2 separate regions of the Homo sapiens genome follow, and region 2 is linked to region 1. Evidence: promoter capture Hi-C in 16 types of primary human blood cells and fetal thymus (Javierre and others, 2016). All regions are on one chromosome and are shown on one strand. Each heading gives the region's core, a stretch centred on a gene start or on the middle of the fragment in contact. The rest is flanking DNA. Distances are from core to core; before and after follow the strand shown. Region 1 holds the start of APOF (apolipoprotein F). Region 2 overlaps BAZ2A (bromodomain adjacent to zinc finger domain 2A).

The links. The method cuts DNA at HindIII sites, captures the fragments that hold promoters and counts their contacts. A CHiCAGO score of 5 or more calls a contact.
Region 2: a contact is called between a fragment that was not itself captured here and the fragment with the promoter of APOF in region 1, in 2 of 17 cell types (erythroblasts and M2 macrophages). The highest score is 5.6, in erythroblasts.

Annotation. Positions count from the first base shown.
Region 1 is chr12:56,360,865-56,366,198 of GRCh38, reverse strand. APOF (apolipoprotein F) reads left to right here and starts at 3,342. Exons shown (of 2, transcript NM_001638.4): 1 at 3,342-3,469; 2 at 4,010-5,334. The coding sequence starts at 3,454. The coding sequence ends at 4,974. The HindIII fragment of the contact is 6,609 bases long and covers 1-3,603 here.
Region 2 is chr12:56,608,774-56,613,594 of GRCh38, reverse strand. BAZ2A (bromodomain adjacent to zinc finger domain 2A) reads left to right here. Exons shown (of 29, transcript NM_001300905.2): 5 at 362-580; 6 at 1,349-1,822; 7 at 1,962-2,022; 8 at 3,078-3,186; 9 at 3,380-3,481; 10 at 3,649-3,859. Among named protein-coding and RNA genes, the nearest start is that of BAZ2A, 19 kb to the left of the region's middle. The HindIII fragment of the contact is 1,811 bases long and covers 1,120-2,930 here.

The DNA of each region.
Region 1 (5,334 bases), core at 2,093-4,592:
GTGAGCCATGATCAGGCCACTGTACTCCAGCCAGGGAGATAGAGCAATACCTGGACTGGACTCTAAAAAAGAAAAAAAAAGTTGCTCTGATTTTGTCTTATTTGTCAATCTGTCCAGTTTCCCTGGACTCCCATCCAGTATATTCTCTTTTTCAGACAAAGTCTCGCTCTGTCACCCAGTCTGGATGGTGCAGTGGTGTAATCATGGCTCACTGCAGCCTTGACCTCCCCAGGTTCAGGTGATCCTCCCACCTCAGCCTCCCCAGTAGCTGGGACTACAGGTGCATGCCACCACTCCTGGCTAATTTTTATAATTTTTGTAGAGACGGGGCTTTCGCCATGTTGCCTAGGCTGGTCTCAAACTTCTGGGCTCAAGCCATCTGCCTGCCTTGGCTTCCCAACCAATATATTCTTTTAATAAGAAAAATGGTGACCAGGCGCTGTGGCTGGCTCAAGCCTGTAATCCCAGCACTTTGGGAGGCCAAGGTGGGCAGATCACCTTAGGTCAGGGGTTCAAGATCAGCCTGGCCAACATGAAGAAACCCCGTCTCTACCAAAAATACAAAATTAGCCGGGAATGGTGGCACACGCCTGTAATCCCAGCTACTTGGGAGGCTGAGGCAGGAGAATCACTTGAACCTGGGAGGCGGAGGTTGCAGTGAGCTGAGATCGCGCCATTGCACTCCAGCCTGGTCAACAAGAGCGAAACTCCGTCTCAGAAAAAAAAAGAAAAGAAAAATGGTTTAGGGGTCCCAGAGATCACCAGCTATTCTGCCTTACCCTTTCTCCCCTCAAGAAGATACGGAGGACCTTTTCCTCAGCTCAAATATAGGTTTAGGGTAAAACCTTAGGATAGAAAAGATATGTCACTGGGTGCCGTGGCTCACGCCTGTAATCCCAACACTTTGGGAGGCCGAGGCAGGCAGATCATTCGAGGTCAGGAGTTTGAGACCAGCCTGACTGACATGGTGAAACTCCATCTCTACTAAAAATACAAAAACATTAGCTAGGCGTGGTGGCGCACACCTGTAGTCCCAGCTACTCGGGAGGCTGAGGCAAGAGAATCTCTTGAACCTGGGAAGTGGAGGTTGCAGTGAGCCAAGATCACGCCATTGCATTCCAGCCTGAGCAACAGAGTGAGACTGTCTCCAGAAAACAAAACAAAACAAAAATTTGCCAGGCATGGTGGTGCGTGCCTGTAATCCCAACTACTAGGGAGACTGAGACACAAGAATCGCTTGAACCCGGGATGTGGAGGTTGCAGTGAGCTGTGATCGTGCCACTGCACTCTACCCTGGGCAACAGAGTGAGACTGTGTCTCCAGAAAAAAAAAGGAAAAGAAAAAGAAAAAGAAAAAAAAAAAAAGATATGGGACAGGACTGCAGGGCCTAAAAGGGGAAAGGTCAGTTTGTCAGTATGGGTCAAAGGTGAGAAGGACAAAGTCTGGGCTGGGAAGAGATGCATAAATATTTGCAAATGTTTTGTCCTTCACTGTTTTGGAAGCCATCAACTTTCTGGTTTCCTTGTGATTCTGGGAAAGGGCAGATTAAAAACAGCAACAACAACAATAATAGTAATTCAGGTCATGAAGATACCAAAGCAAATGAGATGTTTGGACTGTTTTTTTCCTCTGACTTGTTTCTCCTCAAAATAGGAGGATCACCCACATCCTTTAAGAGTGAAGATGAGGTGTGCTCAGGGCAACCGAAGTTTCCAAGAGCTAAGACACTTTCTAGCTCTGGCCAGTCTTGGTGTCTCTTTGTCCTGAGCCTTTCTCCACTTCCCAACCTGAGCACTGCTTCCTTCCAGCAGGGCTGCTCTGCTGTCCCCCCATGGTCCAAGCTGTGCTGCTGCTTTGCTGTGTCCTGCTGTCCCTGGTGTCTGCCTTTCCAAGAAATGCTCAGAATGAGACTCTGACCCTCCAGCCATCTTTAACAGAGACTGGGCATCCATCAAACATGCTCTCCATTATTTGGAGAACATGGAGAGCCAGATTCCTCTCCCAGATCCCAGGATCTGCCAAGATCTCTTACACACAGCCCCCTCCCTAGCCCCTCTGCCTGAGTACCTGTCCAACTTAGCTCTGAGGGTGCCCTTGGAGGAGGTGGGCTGCCCAACTGAGGCCCATGTTCTGCAGTTTCAGATGCGAGGAAAGGATACCACTGAAACCCTCATCCGTGAGAGTCAAAAAGTTCAATGGGGAGGAAGGCAATACCAACATCATTGTGACGAATCTAGTAGTCCCTTAGGGAAGTGTGAATAAACCCAGCACCCAGCTGCCCATCCTGGGAAATGTATGGATGGTGGCAAATATACCCACTGGGGTAGCTGGCCTACCAGGTAGCTCAGATGGTGATTGAGTTTGCTGAGAAACCATCTCCCATGATGCTTGGTGTCACAGTTCAAAGTTTTGGGTGTCCACATCACCAAGAACTGCAGGTATGAGTCTTGGGAGCATATTGAAGAATTAGGCAAAAAGTTGAAGAAGCTCTCAAGATCATTTAAATTGTCCATGGACAGTGACAATATAATCTATCAAATGTTCCACAGCTATTCTGAAGTGCTTTGTGAGGAAAATGATCCAGGAATTGATCCCGGCTCATTTCAGCTATTCAATATCACATAAGTAATGAGTCTCCTTTCCCAGGACTGTATTCAAGGATGGCACACAGTAAGTAGTTAGAAATGTTGGAGACCACTTAGGACAGATGAATGCTCTTTATTTCACCTCTTCCCTTAAACACATATGTGACCAGTGTTAGCCTTGCCCCTCTCCACTTAGTAGGTGTCAGCTCCCCTCCTTTTTTTTTTTTAAGACGGAGTCTCACTCTGTCACCCAGGCTGGAGTGCAGTAGTGCGATCTTGGCTTACTGCAACCTCCACCTCCCGGGTTCAAGCAATTCTCCTGCCTCAGCCTCCTGAGTAGCTGGGACTACAGACGCCCACCACCACGCCTGGGTGTATATATATATATATATATATATATATTTTTTTTTTTTTAGTAGAGACAGGGTTTCACCATATTGGCCAGGCTGGTCTCGAACTCCTGACCTTGTGATCCGCCCGCCTTGGCCTCCCAAAGTGCTGGGATTACAGGCGTGAGCCACCATGCTCAGCCGCTAATTTAATTTTTAAAATGAAGAGAAATGAGAGTATCACAAACATCTCATCTTTCCTAATTCTGAATTTCCCTGGCTCCTATCATGAGCTTAGAGTGGGAATGTGGCAGGGACATACAGGAAATGCCAAAGAACAGGACTGTAGGCATAGAGGTTGAGTGTGTGACAAGGGGCACAAGGTTTGAGCAGCCAGTATAAATGGGCAAATATTTGCAGAGATTACATCCTTCACTGATCATAGGGGAAAGCAAATATCTCCTTTCCTCATGGGACACAGAACTAGGCAGAACAGGATCAGGAAGCGATCAAACCTACCAAGGCAGTCTCACTTCTCAATGACTGGACTGTGTGGTAATTTGGGGTCCCTATATATGGGTGGAAATAAAACAGAAGTCCCTGGTGACCTGTAAATGGGGGAGACCAAGTGGGAGCAACTGGGGTGCATTTCCTATTTCCTAGGCCTTTACCTAAAAAGAACAGAAGCTTGGGGCCAGGCGCGGTGGCTCACATCTGGAAGCCTATCACTTTGGGAGGCGGAGGTGGAAGGATCACTTGAGCCCAAAGTTCAGAACTAGGCTGGGCCAGATGGCAAAACCACGTCTCTACAAAAAATTTAAAAATTAGCTGGGCATGGTGTCACGCACCTGTAGTCCCAGCTGCTTGGGAGGCTGAGGCAGGAGGATCCCTCGAGCCCAGGAATTCAAGGCAGCAGTGATTTGTGATCCCATCACTGCACTCTAGTCTGGGCAACAGAGCAAGACCCTGTCTCTAAAAAGAAAGTACAAAAGCTTGGAAGCAGGTGATGTATGAGGTGTCCCCCTAACTGAGTCTTGGGCTCACCATCGCCCTTAGGGAAATGGTTTGTATGTTTCGGATTTCTCCCCTTTCTAGGGTACTCTGCTCCAGACATGCGTGGCCTCAGACTCATCATGATACCAGTTGAGCTGCTACTTTGCTACCTCCTGCTGCACCCTGTGGATGCCACTTCATATGGAAAGCAGACAAATGTCTTGATGCACTTTCCCTTGTCCTTGGAATCCCAGACACCCTCCTCAGACCCCTTGTCCTGCCAATTTCTGCACCCAAAGTCACTGCCTGGTTTCAGCCACATGGCCCCTCTACCCAAGTTCTTGGTAAGCCTGGCTCTAAGGAATGCCCTGGAGGAAGCTGGTTGTCAGGCTGATGTTTGGGCTCTACAGCTACAGCTCTACCGCCAGGGTGGTGTGAATGCTACACAGGTCCTCATCCAGCATCTTCGAGGGCTCCAGAAAGGCAGAAGCACAGAGAGGAACGTGTCAGTGGAAGCCCTGGCCTCTGCTCTGCAGCTGTTAGCCAGGGAGCAGCAAAGCACAGGAAGGGTCGGGCGCTCCCTCCCGACAGAGGACTGTGAGAATGAGAAGGAGCAAGCTGTGCACAATGTAGTCCAGCTGCTGCCAGGAGTGGGAACCTTCTACAACCTGGGCACAGCTTTGTATTATGCTACTCAAAACTGCCTGGGCAAGGCCAGGGAACGAGGCCGAGATGGGGCCATAGATCTGGGATATGACCTTCTGATGACCATGGCTGGGATGTCAGGGGGGCCTATGGGTCTAGCGATCAGTGCTGCACTTAAACCTGCATTAAGGTCTGGGGTTCAGCAGTTGATCCAGTATTACCAAGATCAGAAAGACGCAAACATCTCTCAGCCGGAGACCACCAAGGAGGGTTTGAGGGCCATCTCAGATGTGAGTGACTTGGAAGAAACAACTACTCTGGCTTCTTTCATATCAGAAGTAGTAAGTTCAGCTCCCTACTGGGGGTGGGCCATAATCAAGAGCTATGACTTAGATCCTGGGGCTGGGAGTCTTGAGATATAAAAGAATGTGGTAACCACAGAATTAATAACTGTACTACCCTGACAAGCTATATACATGTCTTCAAAATTTTAATCTGATTTATCCAGGAGGAAGGCTGTACAGTAAAACGTAAGAACGTAAATGTTTGGGTGTTGAAGTCACAGGGTTTGGTTTCGAATCTAGGCTCCACTTGTTAGAGCCTCGGTGATCACTGAATAGTAACTTCTTTCTTGAACTAAGATCAGTTTTGAAGTTTCTAAAGGAGATAGAATGATTTTAACCTCAATGAGTTGCCCTGTAAATTTAAAATGATACAATGAATCTAAAATGCTTATCACAGTACTTTCAATAAATAGCTATTAGCCAGGTGCGGTGGCTCAC
Region 2 (4,821 bases), core at 776-3,275, 250 kb before region 1:
GACATATTTTATGATAAATCCTAGAATTTTGCATAGGTCTCTGGGTAGATAATACCACCAATGCCTTTCCTTTCATTTTCACCTTGTAGAGATGAGGTCTTGCTATGTTGTCCAGGCTGGTCTTGAACTCTGGCCTCAAGCAATTCTTCTGCCTCGGCCTCCCCTCAAACTTTTATGATCCCTATAATCTCATGACTACTCTTTCAGGGAGAAGGCTTTACTTGTTACCTAACTTAATATTAGGAAGAATCTTCACATTGTGGGAACTAGAATTGGATGTTTTCTGACCAGTGTTTCTTAAATCTTGCTTTCTGATTTTTTTCTCATTATCCTGCTCTGATTTTTCTACCCTTGTAAACAGAGCCAGTGAGTGGAGGACTATATGGTATTGATGACACGGAGCTGATGGGTGCAGAGGACAAGCTGCCTCTTGAGGACAGCCCTGTGATTTCTGCCCTTGATTGCCCTTCCCTCAATAATGCTACTGCCTTCAGTCTCCTGGCAGATGATAGTCAAACATCAACCTCTATCTTTGCCAGTCCCACCTCTCCACCTGTCCTAGGGGAGTCTGTCCTGCAAGGTAAGTGACGGTAGGTAGGACAAAGAAAGACCTTTACCTGAGAAAAGATGAGAGAATAAGTTTCATAGTTAGGGCCTTAAGAGTGGGAAATCTGGCTGGGCGCAGTGGCTCACGCCTGTAATCTCAGCACTTCGGGAGGCCGAGGCGGGTGGATCACCTGAGATCAGGAGTTTGAGACCACCTGGCCAACATGGTGAAACCCCGCCTCTACTAAAAATACAAAAATTAGCCAGGTGTGTTGGCACATGCCTGTAATCCCAGCTACCTGGGAGGCTGAGGCAGGAGAATCGCTTGGCCCCAGGAGGCAGAGGTTGCAGTGAGCCGAGATTGTGTCGTTGCACTCCAACCTGGGCAACAGAGCAAGACTCCATCTCAAAAAAAAAGTAGGAAAGCAAGAGCACCTTGCTGGGAGCTGAGGGGCTATGGGATAGTGTATGGTGGAACTAAAAGAGGTATAGGCTGCTATACTCCGACCTGTGCCCTCTGCTTTGAAGAACTTGTGAGACTTGGAATTTGTAGGGAGAAGGAGGCTAGAAGCTTTATTGGCACCAGGTAAAAGGTATTTCTTCACACAATGACATCTGTAGCAACTTTACCCTTTAATCCTCATGATTGGTTGGGAGAAAAAGCTACTTCTTTTTCCAACCCTAGGGAAGACCCCTTGAAGTAACCCTGTTTAGCTTGGTCCAGGGTTGACTGAGTAGATTCTCTTGTTTTATGTGATGCCTTTTTTTTTTTTAAAGCCTATCCTGTCCCTTTGGATTCTAGATAACAGCTTTGACCTGAATAATGGTAGTGACGCTGAACAGGAAGAAATGGAAACTCAATCTTCAGACTTCCCACCATCCCTGACCCAGCCAGCTCCTGATCAGTCATCCACTATTCAGCTACATCCAGCAACCTCACCAGCAGTCTCGCCAACAACCTCCCCAGCAGTCTCCCTAGTGGTTTCTCCAGCAGCCTCCCCAGAAATCTCTCCAGAAGTTTGTCCCGCAGCTTCTACAGTTGTCTCTCCAGCAGTCTTCTCAGTGGTCTCTCCAGCTTCCTCAGCAGTCCTCCCAGCAGTCTCCTTAGAAGTCCCGTTGACGGCTTCAGTGACATCCCCAAAAGCCTCTCCCGTAACTTCCCCAGCAGCTGCCTTTCCAACAGCCTCCCCAGCAAATAAGGATGTCAGCAGCTTTCTAGAAACCACTGCTGACGTGGAAGAGATCACTGGAGAAGGACTCACTGCTTCTGGTAGTGGTGAGTATCCAGATTCTATTCTATCCCTGTCTGGTTCCAAGAAACTTTTCTGTCCCATGTTGTAGTTAGCCTTTCCCTATTGGCCTATTGTTTAAATATTTTGCTTGAACTCTTAACTTGGGTATCCCTTCCTCCCAAGGTGATGTCATGAGGAGACGTATTGCTACCCCAGAAGAAGTTCGTCTTCCCCTCCAACATGGGTAAATGCTCTAGTTTGCTACATTTATTGACCTTGACAAGTTTAATGCACAACTCTAGAAAGAAGGGAATGCCTCTTTTCCTCTGAGGTGGGGGAGGAATGGGCCAGACAAGAGTAGATTACAGGACAGTTATCTGCAGTGATAATGTTTCTTGGCATGAGATTCCTAGGTTTTCCTTCTTCTCTCAAGGTCTGTCTTCCATCACCTATTCTTTTTTCATCTTGTAGTGACTCAATTTTGCCCAAGGAGCTCCAGCTATTATCTTTTCCAAACCCTAGGGCTCACATCCAAACCAGCTGGCTTGTCCTATTTCTGTGGACAAGGGATAGTAATGAATGAGGAGTGACTTAGTACTAATGAATTGAGGTGGTTTTGTTGTTTTAATGCTCTTAGGAGAGGTAAGGGCAGGAACAGTACATGACCAAAATGAACAAACTAGCTGACACCAGGGCCTTGTGGAAATAACTGCCTTCCTGGATCTTCCCCACCCCTGCCCCTCAAGGCTACTTGTGGTCACCAAGTCTGAGTACTGCTTAAAATTTTGAGAGAAAGATTAGAGTTAGTCTTAGAACTAACTCTGACTAACTTTGTGTTCTGCTCAGAACACAGAGTTCCTAACTAAACCCTGGCATATTGAGTCTTTTCATGGAATCAGCAGCAAATTTATTTTTCTGCTTGCCTCCCTGCCCTTTGTCTTCTGTCTTTATTCCCCTTAGGTCTTTATCCTCTTTACTGGAAATCCAGTAACTGCCCTGAATGGCTCAGGGAGGGGTTTCTGGCAGCTTATCTCACTGATTTTGTAAAGGAGGGATGGAGATCTCTCTGAGCTTGTGCAGTTTGGTGTAGTGCTTTTCTCCTAAGGGCCTTGATGTATTTGCTGGAGCTCAAGTCAGCCTTCTAGCCAAGCTTATCTCTCTTGGTGCTTTTGCATCTGCATGCAGTTCTAGAGATACAAATGTGGGGAGGGCCATCTGCTCAGAGGGCTTCGCGCTTAGGTGGCATGGGAGTGGGTAGGGGTGTGACCTGGCGGCAGGGCCCATGTGCTTCTCTGGCAGGTGGCGGAGAGAGGTGCGCATCAAGAAGGGCAGCCACCGATGGCAGGGGGAGACCTGGTATTATGGCCCCTGTGGGAAGAGGATGAAGCAATTTCCAGAAGTGATCAAGGTAATGTAGCTTTTTTTAAAGGACTGCTTTCTTGGGCTCAGTGGACTCCTTTCCACTGCCCAAGACTCCGTTCTTGGGCTCAGTGACAACAGGCTGGCATTGTCTGCTCTGGGCCTGTTCTGCTTATGCCTTTGCTGGCCAAAGACATGGTAGGATCCAACTTTATTAATGTTACTTTACTTCTTCCTCTTAGTACCTGAGCCGCAACGTGGTACACAGTGTCCGCCGAGAGCACTTCAGCTTCAGTCCCCGTATGCCTGTTGGAGATTTCTTTGAAGAAAGAGACACGCCAGAGGTGCAGACCCAAGGGTTAAATATGCTTTTGTCCCTGAGGAAGAGTTGGTGGACAAGCTGCAGCTTCCTCTCGTGGGGTTTGAAGGTTCTGGGGCATTGAATGGTTCCGAGGGCCTCGTGGCCTGCACTGATTCCTTACTACTGTAACAGTCTCCCTTGCTACCTTAGGGCTTGCAGTGGGTGCAGCTCTCAGCAGAGGAGATCCCGTCGAGGATTCAGGCAATTACTGGCAAACGGGGTCGACCTCGAAACACTGAGAAGGCTAAGACTAAGGAAGTCCCCAAGGTGAAACGGGGTCGAGGTCGGCCACCTAAGGTCAAAATCACTGAGCTATTGAACAAGACAGACAACCGCCCCCTAAAGAAACTGGAGGCCCAAGGTACAGTGGTATTTCTTACTTTGGGATTCTGCTCCCTCCATGAGGTATCTAAAATGTTGATGAATTGCTAATACCTGGATTTCCCAGGAGTGTAACTAACATTATCTGGGAAGAATGAATCTGAATCAGCTTCTCCTTGGAATCCAGCATCCTAGTCCCAGCGCTTGGGAATACTACTTTTCCAGCCATGGTCTTTCTTGAGTTGCTGTTACCAGTGAAACCTTGGGCTGCCCCCAGGTGTGTTTAGCCCAGAGGAGAGGACTTTCTTGCCCTTTCTTTCCATCTTTTAGCTCCTTATCATATACTGGTTCAGTTGTACCCTTTTACCTTACCCATTTCTACTATCATGGAGGTTCAGAATTCACATCTGAATTCAAAAGATAATTGGGAGCCAGGCATGGTGGTGTGTGCTTAATAATCCCAGTTACCCAGGAGGCTGAGGCAGGCAGCAGAGGATCACTTGAGCCCAGGAGTTTGGAGGCTACAGTAAACTTCAGTTGTGTTATTGCATTCCAACCTGGGCAACAGAGCAAGGCCCTGTTTCTAAAAAAAATAATAGGCCGGGCACAGTGTCTCACACCTGTAATCCCAGCACTTCGGAAGGCCAAGGCGGGCGGATCGTGAGGTCAAGAGATTGAGACCATCCTGGCGAACATGGTAAAACCCCGTCTCTACTAAAAATACAAAACAAAAAATTAGCTGGGCGTGGTGGTGTGTGCCTGTAGTCCCACCTACTTGGGAGGCTGAGGCAGGAGAATAGCTTGAACCTGGGAGGTGGAGGTTTCAGTAAGCTGAGATTGCGCCACTGCACTCCAGCTTGGTGATAGAGCTAGACTCTGTCTCAAAAAAAAAAAAAAAAAAAAAAAAAGCCAGGCACGGTGGCTCACGCCTGTAATCCCACCACTTTGGGAGACTGAGGAGGGCAGATCACCTGAGGTCGGGAGTTCAAGACCAGCCTGACC